Linked DNA regions of Homo sapiens: regions 2 and 3 are each linked to region 1. Evidence: promoter capture Hi-C in 16 types of primary human blood cells and fetal thymus (Javierre and others, 2016). All regions are on one chromosome and are shown on one strand. The core of a region is centred on a gene start or on the middle of the fragment in contact, and the rest is flanking DNA. Distances in the headings are between cores, read along the strand shown. Region 1 holds the start of C2CD5 (C2 calcium dependent domain containing 5). Region 2 overlaps LOC124902897. Region 3 overlaps LOC105369698 (a long non-coding RNA gene).

Region 1 (2,581 bases), core at 32-2,531:
GGGTTATTACCTTCCGGCCGTAGGCCTTTACTAATTTGCATGACTTTTAAACTAATCATTAGACTTAAAAAGCAATTTTGCAATTTAAGTCCATGGCAATTAAATGACTTCCTACCTCAAGGCGCTAAATTACCCTGAAACACCTCATCAGACCTACCAGCCTATACAAGAGCAGGAAGTGTTGCAGTTGTGTTTTAGAACGTGCATGGCAGATTCACAAAATGTTAGGCATGAGAGTGGATTTCCTCGCACTGTGGGACTCCAAGTGCCCATAAAGGGCTTCATGCACCTTCTTAAACATGATGTCCAGCACTCTGGCCACCCCTTCCAAGGGTGTGTGTGTGCCTGTGTGTGTGTGTGTTTCAGTGGCTGCGGGGCCACACCTTGGGATCTCCTGAGTGGCAGGTGGCCTGTTAATGAGTCCTGACATCAGAGTCATTCCGGCATTTGTGTGTGTGTGTGTGTATGTGTGTGAGTGTGTCGGTGGCTGCGCGGCCACGCCTTGGGATCTCCTGAGTGGCAGGTGGCCTGTTAATGAGTCCTGACATCAGGGTCACCCCCGCATGCACAACAGTACAAGCCTCCCCGCGCAGCGGACTGTGCCGCGGACGCCTGCAAGCCGTGCACCCATCGCACACACTGAGGTCTCGGCGGTCATCCCTCGTGGGAGAGCTGGACAACCACGGCCGAAGGGAGGGCAGTCGAGGGGGGAATAGGCTGAGGGGCTGGGGGCGAGGTGGGTAGATCCTTCACAGGGCTTGGCGCTCCCTGTGTTTTGAGGGGCAGGACCCTGCACCAACCTCCACGAAGGCATCAGTCAGGTCACTAGCACGGTCCATCACTGGCAAATGGCGCCCGGCCACGATTTTCACCTTCAGCTTCCCTGGCATGGTCTCGGTTTCGGCCTCTTCTTGGGCTCCTGCAGAAACAAACAAACGAGTCTGCGCCGAGCGCGGGGCCGGCGGGAGAGGGGCGGAGGCGCGCGGGGTAACTGACAGCGAAGGAGCGCGCGGGGGCGCGCGCGGGCGCCCGGCAGTCGCGCCACGGGTCGCCACTCACTGTCGCAGGAGGAAGGGTGCTGTCCCGCGCGGGTGCTGAGACCTCATTCCGGAGAGGCGGCGGGAGGAAGGGCTTTGATGGGTTCTTCCGTCCCGGCCCCACAAGGCTGGGACGAAAAGCAAAACCCAGTCAGCATCCCGTTGAGCCTCTGCCGCCCCTGCTTGTCTCTCCTCCCCCGCTCTCAAAAATGGCGGCTCTCGGGGCGCGGAAGAAAGCATCGATCGTTCGGCGCTCTGCCCACTTGGCGGGGCGAAACTAAACTCGCCGAGGAAAGATAAGGGGGCGGGGCTGACGTTGAGAAAGCTGGAGGGCAGGGAAATGGGCCGAGTCCTGCATCATCCACCGAGTGGGGGCTGTGGATAGGTGCGGCGCTGCTTCCCTGGAGGGAAACGCTCCATCTTGCGGGCCGAAGCGCGAGTGCTGCTCTGTGACAGCCTCCGGCCGCGGCCTTCCCAGCTGCTACCGCCGCTTTTCGGATGGGCTGTGATAGATGGAGTAGCAGCGAAGACTGCTAGAAGAGCGTTTTCAGTCGGCCTTTAGTGATTCGTAAAACCAAATTAGCTGGTTTCTACTTGGAAGGGGTACAGGTGCGTGTGGTGGTTCCAGTTTTCTGTGAAATAGAGTTAGATGGCCAGGCACAGTGGCTCACGTCTGTAATCCCAGCACTTTGGGTGGCCGAGGCGGGCGGATCACCTGAGGTCAGGAGTTCAAGACCAGCCTGGACAACATGGCGAAACCCCGTCTCTACTAAAAATACAAAAATTAGCTGGGCGTCGTGGCGAGCGCCTCTAATTCCAGCTACTCAGGAGGCTGAGGCAGGAAAATCGCTTGAACCTGCGAGGCGGAGGTTGCAGTGAGCCGAGATCACTCCTCTGTCTCCAAAAAAAGAAAAAAAAGAAAGAAAGAAATAGAGATACCAGGCACATCTCGAATAGTGAAATAAATATTTAGTGAAATATTTTATTCAGTCATAGGCACTTGTGTTGTGCACTGGGTCACAGATATTACTGTGGGCGGGGTGGGGGAGGTCACCTTGAAATCCAAAGTCTCCTCTTGAAAAAAAGTTTCTGCTGGTAGGTGTGGTGGCTCAGATTTGTAATCCCAGCACTGTGGGAGGCTGAGGTGGGAGGATCGATTGAGTCCAGGAGTTCGAGACCAGCCTCATGGAGACGAGGCAACACAGTAAGACCCCTTCTTTACAAGAAATGCAAAAATTAGCTGGGCCGGTGGCTCGTCTGTGGTCTCAGCTACCTAGGAAGCTGAGGTGGGAGAATCTGGGAGAATTGCTTGAGCCCAGGAGTTTGAGGCTGCAGTGAGCTGCCATCTCACCACTGCACCCCAACCTGGGCAACAGAGCAAAACTCTGTCTCTTAAAAAAAATTTTTTTTTAATTAAATGTCCTGCACTCTTAGATCATCTCAGTGTTCTTATTAAGCATCCACAAGCCTAAAGATAAGACCTACAGTAGTAGCAGAAGTTCAGGACTTCCTACCATGGAAAGTATAGTCAACCACAAGAAATA
Region 2 (2,581 bases), core at 31-2,530, 2.2 Mb after region 1:
GCTGGACCTGAAGGGTGAAGGAGAAAAGAAGGTTCATGTGATAGAAGAAAGGATCCGTGGTGCTGAAAGACTCCAGTGCTAACTGAAGCTGCTAGAGAATTAACCGCAGACCAAAATAAATTAATGTAAAATGGTCACCATTGCCTCCACTCAAGTTTTCTGAGGGTGAATGTTTTTCATATGGCCAAATATGAAGAATTTGATTTGCAACTCCCAAATCTCTAAAGCTATGAAAGCCCAGAGTCCCCCAGCTCAGATGCAGGTGGGTCTCCCTCTCAGGTGACTGTCCTGGAGATTGTTACAGGGTCTCAGGCTTCAGGCAACAGGAGAAAGCTGTGGTAAGCCTCCTCATTCCCTTTACCACCAAGGCTGCAGCAACTACTTCAACACCATTTTCTTCCATTTCCAATGACTACTGTTAACGAGTTTGCAACTCAACATATCATTCCAACACCCCCCTCCCAAAAAAATCTTATTCATGATTTTGACACATAAGAAGGCAATTGATACTGTGAAATGTCAGAGCAAATTGGCACATTTTGTTCACCACAACTTAATGATTTCTTATTATTTACTTCAAATCGCCATTCCCACATTTATTACAAAGGTGAATTTTTAACAGAAACCTGTGATTTTTCCAGACTACGTGCCCTTTGAACGCTAAGCCCCTCAGCTCGAACATGCCTGAAATACATGCACAAACAATATAAAAAGGCCCATAGCCCAGGATCCAAGTGGCATTTGGAATTCCAGCCCACTGAGAAATGTTTCCACCTACTTCCCATGACTAGAAAGCAGCTGAAGGAAAGTCACTCTGAACAGTAATTGCATGTTTTGTAAAAGCTATCAAAAGTTACACACAGATGCATTTTACAAAGACCTGGAGGGGTGTTCACACTTCTTGGCAGGTGTGTGAGCCTGTGGCTCTAACAAACCTGGCCCTAGAGCCACAAAGGTGGCTCAGGTGATCTTGAACACATCTCTATTAGATGATTTTAAACATTGCCTCCACATCTGTATGGCTTGGCAGCAAGCTGCAAATGTGTTTCTGTCACTGGAGCCCTTCAAGGGCTGCTATCTTCCCGTAAGCCATAATGAATCCCACAGTCAAACACTGCATGGTGTGCAAACTTCTGAACACCTGCACTCTCCAAATCCTGCCTTTGACTTATGCGATAGCGTTTGTCACTTCATTGGCACTGCATTATAGAAACTAAGTGTAATTGCGACCTAGAAAGGTTCAACAGTGAAACCAAAAAAAGAATAAAAGTAAAGGAACCTCGGCTTAATATGGAGCATCAAGAACCGCCTCAGTCTCGGAGTGTTCGGAGGACTCCAGTTAACAGTGGAGGAAAACCAGGCTTGCGTTTGAATATTACTTTAGCTGGAAAACACTATTTCATTACATTAATGTCTGCACTAATTATTATAATAATCCTGAGTTTACACCAGTAACAAATCAATTGTAATGAGCTGAACAAAAGAATCTAGGTGGAATTCTTCCCTATAAATATGCTCCTGTCAGTGCAGTCAAAACACAGTGCCAGAACACTGCCTGTGTCAGTGAATAACACATTTTAAAACTGGTATGTCCTTTTAATCTCTTAATTGGTTGTGTATGTGGGAAATCCTATGAAAAGCGAAGTCTCTGTCCACCTGGATTTTTGAAGGATAGCTATACTTACAGCTGTCACAAGTTGTCAGTATTTTGTAAAGTGTCTGAGTCTGATTAGGTATAGAGGTGCGGAATTTGAGTGTCACAGAAGGGGCCTGAATTTGAATCTTGGAATGTAAACAAATTAGGATTTTGTAGTGCCTAATATAGTGTGCTCATACAGTTTCTTTGAATAAATGTGGTTGGTTGCCTTAAAAGTTAATCAATCCCCACTTCTAAAATAGTTTTACAACTGATATGGTTGAGCACAAAGAAATAATTTTTTATTCTAAAACAGCTCTGCAAAGTTGGATAGGGTTGACTTTAAAAGTTGCTCATGTGAACGATTCAGTCGTTTAGGCTCCTTTCACAGACATTACCCTATTGTATCCTCCTAACCCAGGAAGTAGATAGGAGAGGTTTAAAAGGTTCTGAAAGGTTAAATGAGTTCCTGAAGGTCACAATGCTAATTAACAGTTGAGCAATTTCTAGAACCCAGATCTCTGTGCACCTTGTTTATGACAACACATTTTCTCTGAACAGGTTATTTTTTGGTTAGATCATTGATGGTACTATATGGTGAGTGCTGAGGGAAACCTAGGAAGAATGATTCCACATTTAGGTTGTTGGCATGAGTTGCTATCTATGTAAACACGTCTTTAGAGTCTCTCAGAAATGAATGGAATTGCTTTTGTTCAGCTAACAGAAAATAACTAGTGGGCAATGTCATAGAAGAGGGAGAAATATCACTTAAGTTTGGGGACCACTTAATATAAGCATCTAACTGTGTGTGTGTGCATAGATGCTTGTGCATGCGTGCGTGTGTGTGTGTACATATGAGTAAGAAAGTGAAGGAGAAGCCCTGCGCGGTGGCTCATGCCTGTAATCCCAACACTTTGGGAGGCCGAGATGGGCGGATCCCAGGAG
Region 3 (2,581 bases), core at 56-2,555, 2.2 Mb after region 1:
CTCAATTCCATTTCAGTAAATGTTTGGTGGCTTCTATATGCTGATCCCTTATTTTTGTGACTCTACTTCTCTGTCGTTGGCCAGGCATCCATTCTCCACCCTCTCAACCTCTCCCCATCTTGCCTTAACTACTCTCTAACTCTACTTTTGCAACCTGCTGTGCTTTCGCTCACTGCCTGTCTACTCCTTCCTTGCTACTTTTATAGCCATTTTTCTCATATCCACGGAAGACTAATGACCTTTGCTTTTAGCTGCTTCATCATGTTGGCATTTAAACACTAAAATGGTGTGATAGGCCTGCCACTGCGCAAGGGACCATGAGGACTGCCTTCATTTCTTCACTTTTTGTATCGTGTTTTTCAGTAATCATGTGGCCTCAGCTGACTTCGTAGGCATTTAGTTCACTACATTTTTGATAGACACATGAACTCAAAATATTCAGCTGGGGTTGATATGACCATTTTATGAAGAAAAGGAAGTTCGTAGACTTCTGGAATTTGTAAATAACATTTAGTCTCAACTGTGCCTTTGAAATTTTCAGCTGTAAGAAACGCTTTTGAAAATAGAAGACAAAAGTCCACCAGAGAGTTGCATTCCATTCTCTGGAGTTAAAAAAGTTCCACAATCTCAGTTGTAGGAAAAAAAAATGCTTATTTTTAGTGCTTTCTGTAATTTTCTGCTTGCAAAGAGACACATCTTTCATGACAGTGTCGTCATTTCATGGCCCTCAAAGTTTTCAATCAGTCTTGTTGACTTAAGCCTGGACTACCTAGGTTTAAGTGTATGACACACGATCAGATCAGTCATCTGGAAGCACTCTCTTTCTGCAGGTATCAACACCAAGTTACCTGCAGGAGGCAATTTTGCTTTGCTTTATAATAAAGATCTCAACATTAACTGATGCTTTGCTCTCTGAATCTCCTTTCACCTTTGATGGGAGCTGAGAGTCTCAGTAATCTCCAAAACATCTTTCTTGGGTGGATTTTTTAAATCGACAAGCCTTGATATGATTGTGCATGTTCTCATTTCTAACTTATTTTTAATGATAGAGATGAGCTGATAGCATATGTATGTGTTCTCCATTAGGCCAAGGAAATTAAGAGAGAATCTTATCCTCACTCCGTAGCCATGTAAAAATTAGTTTCCTTATTTTTTTGCCCCAGATGAATTCTGCATTGTTTTAATGAATTCATTCACAGTGTGAGGGCACACAGCATTGAAGAGACCTCAAGCAGTTTCACATTACAGACACTGACATAGCTTGCTAGAGATCTTCAAAGGCTTTTGTACTCTATTGCTTCATCATTTCTTGAGAAAATTATTTTTAGGCTGTCACACTCCCCCATTTCTTTTTTAAACAGCTACCAAAAAAAAAAAAAAAGGAATTAAGGGCAGAGGACGTGATCTGAACTATATCTGTTGTTTAAAAGATTAAATAATGTGTAACTGATACAGTATGCTGAAAAATAGATTTGCCTTATTTGTAAAATTACAGAAATTTTAATGTAAAATGAGGCAATTGAATTATCAGTGGTTTTCTAAATTTCTTTAGTAGTAGATACATCTTAATAAAAACCAAAATGTTATACAGGTGCCTAGTAAATAAAATGGAGGCTATACTAATTAAAATATAAGTTGGGGACTCTTAGAAATCTGCCTTCTCATCCCGCCTTTTGGCAATCTCTGGACACTTCTACGAACCTCTTAGACTAGACACTAAATGATCTTTGATATACATTTCCAAGACAAACACTATATGATTCTACTCAATTCAATTCAAAAAAATGTACTTGGGTGCCTAAAATATAACTGGAGATACAAAGATACATACAGTATCCTCCCTGCCTCAAGAAGCAACACACAATTCTGTTTTGAATACAGTGGCTCCTTGTACCCCCAACCCATTAGCATATTAAGCCCAAAAATAACCCACTGGTCTCTCTCCTGGAGAGTGTTATGGATCCCAGTGCCTGGTGCTGGTTACTACTCAATTAATTCTTACTGAGCAAACTTATTGAGCAAATGAAAGCATTTGAATTAAATAAGTGAGTTTCATGACTAAATAAAATAATGGGTAATATACTAAGAGTAAATGAAAATACAGTCCTAGGGAAATATTATATTCAATGCAATAGCTTAAAATAAATGTCATCCTTATAAACTGTTAAATCAAGTTTCTATATGGTTAAAAAAACATAATGAATGCCCTTCCTTGTCAGTTCCCCTACAACAAGCAGTGATCAGATACTTCAAAGGAAACCCTATCTTTTACTTAACTATGGAATAGTACTCCATGAGAGGAAATACCTGATTTCAACTGATGATTAGCATATGCCTTAAAAAATAGGGAAAAGGACTCTCAATGATTCTTAAATGTTAACTGTTTTTAATATCTTACTTGGGACTTTTAAGGCCTCTCAACCTCAGCTAATATCCTGTAACAAGAAATTCTCTAATATTGACAAAGCAAATAAGCAAATGTCTTGCATATTTTAAGTTGAGAGCTTAAGTATTTCTTTGCTCTTTTTTTCCCTTGTATTAGGAAGCTGCATTGCTTTCTTTCTACGGGAATAGTTTCACA

What was found. The method cuts DNA at HindIII sites, captures the fragments that hold promoters and counts their contacts. A CHiCAGO score of 5 or more calls a contact.
Region 2: a contact is called between a fragment that was not itself captured here and the fragment with the promoter of C2CD5 in region 1, in 1 of 17 cell types (M2 macrophages). The highest score is 6.6, in M2 macrophages.
Region 3: a contact is called between a fragment that was not itself captured here and the fragment with the promoter of C2CD5 in region 1, in 1 of 17 cell types (M2 macrophages). The highest score is 10.9, in M2 macrophages.

Annotation. Positions count from the first base shown.
Region 1 is chr12:22,543,261-22,545,841 of GRCh38, forward strand. It overlaps C2CD5 (C2 calcium dependent domain containing 5), which reads right to left and starts at 1,282. Exons shown (of 27, transcript NM_001286176.2): 1 at 1,060-1,282; 2 at 801-919. The coding sequence starts at 890. RefSeq lists enhancers at 1-42, 1,183-1,412 and a silencer at 923-1,042. The HindIII fragment of the contact is 7,848 bases long and covers 1-2,581 here.
Region 2 is chr12:24,715,606-24,718,186 of GRCh38, forward strand. All of the region lies in intron 1 of LOC124902897, which reads left to right. Among named protein-coding and RNA genes, the nearest start is that of BCAT1-AS1, 100 kb to the right of the region's middle. The HindIII fragment of the contact is 3,597 bases long and covers 1-2,581 here.
Region 3 is chr12:24,696,716-24,699,296 of GRCh38, forward strand. The region is part of intron 1 of LOC105369698 (a long non-coding RNA gene); the gene reads right to left. Among named protein-coding and RNA genes, the nearest start is that of LINC00477, 110 kb to the left of the region's middle. The HindIII fragment of the contact is 3,483 bases long and covers 1-2,581 here.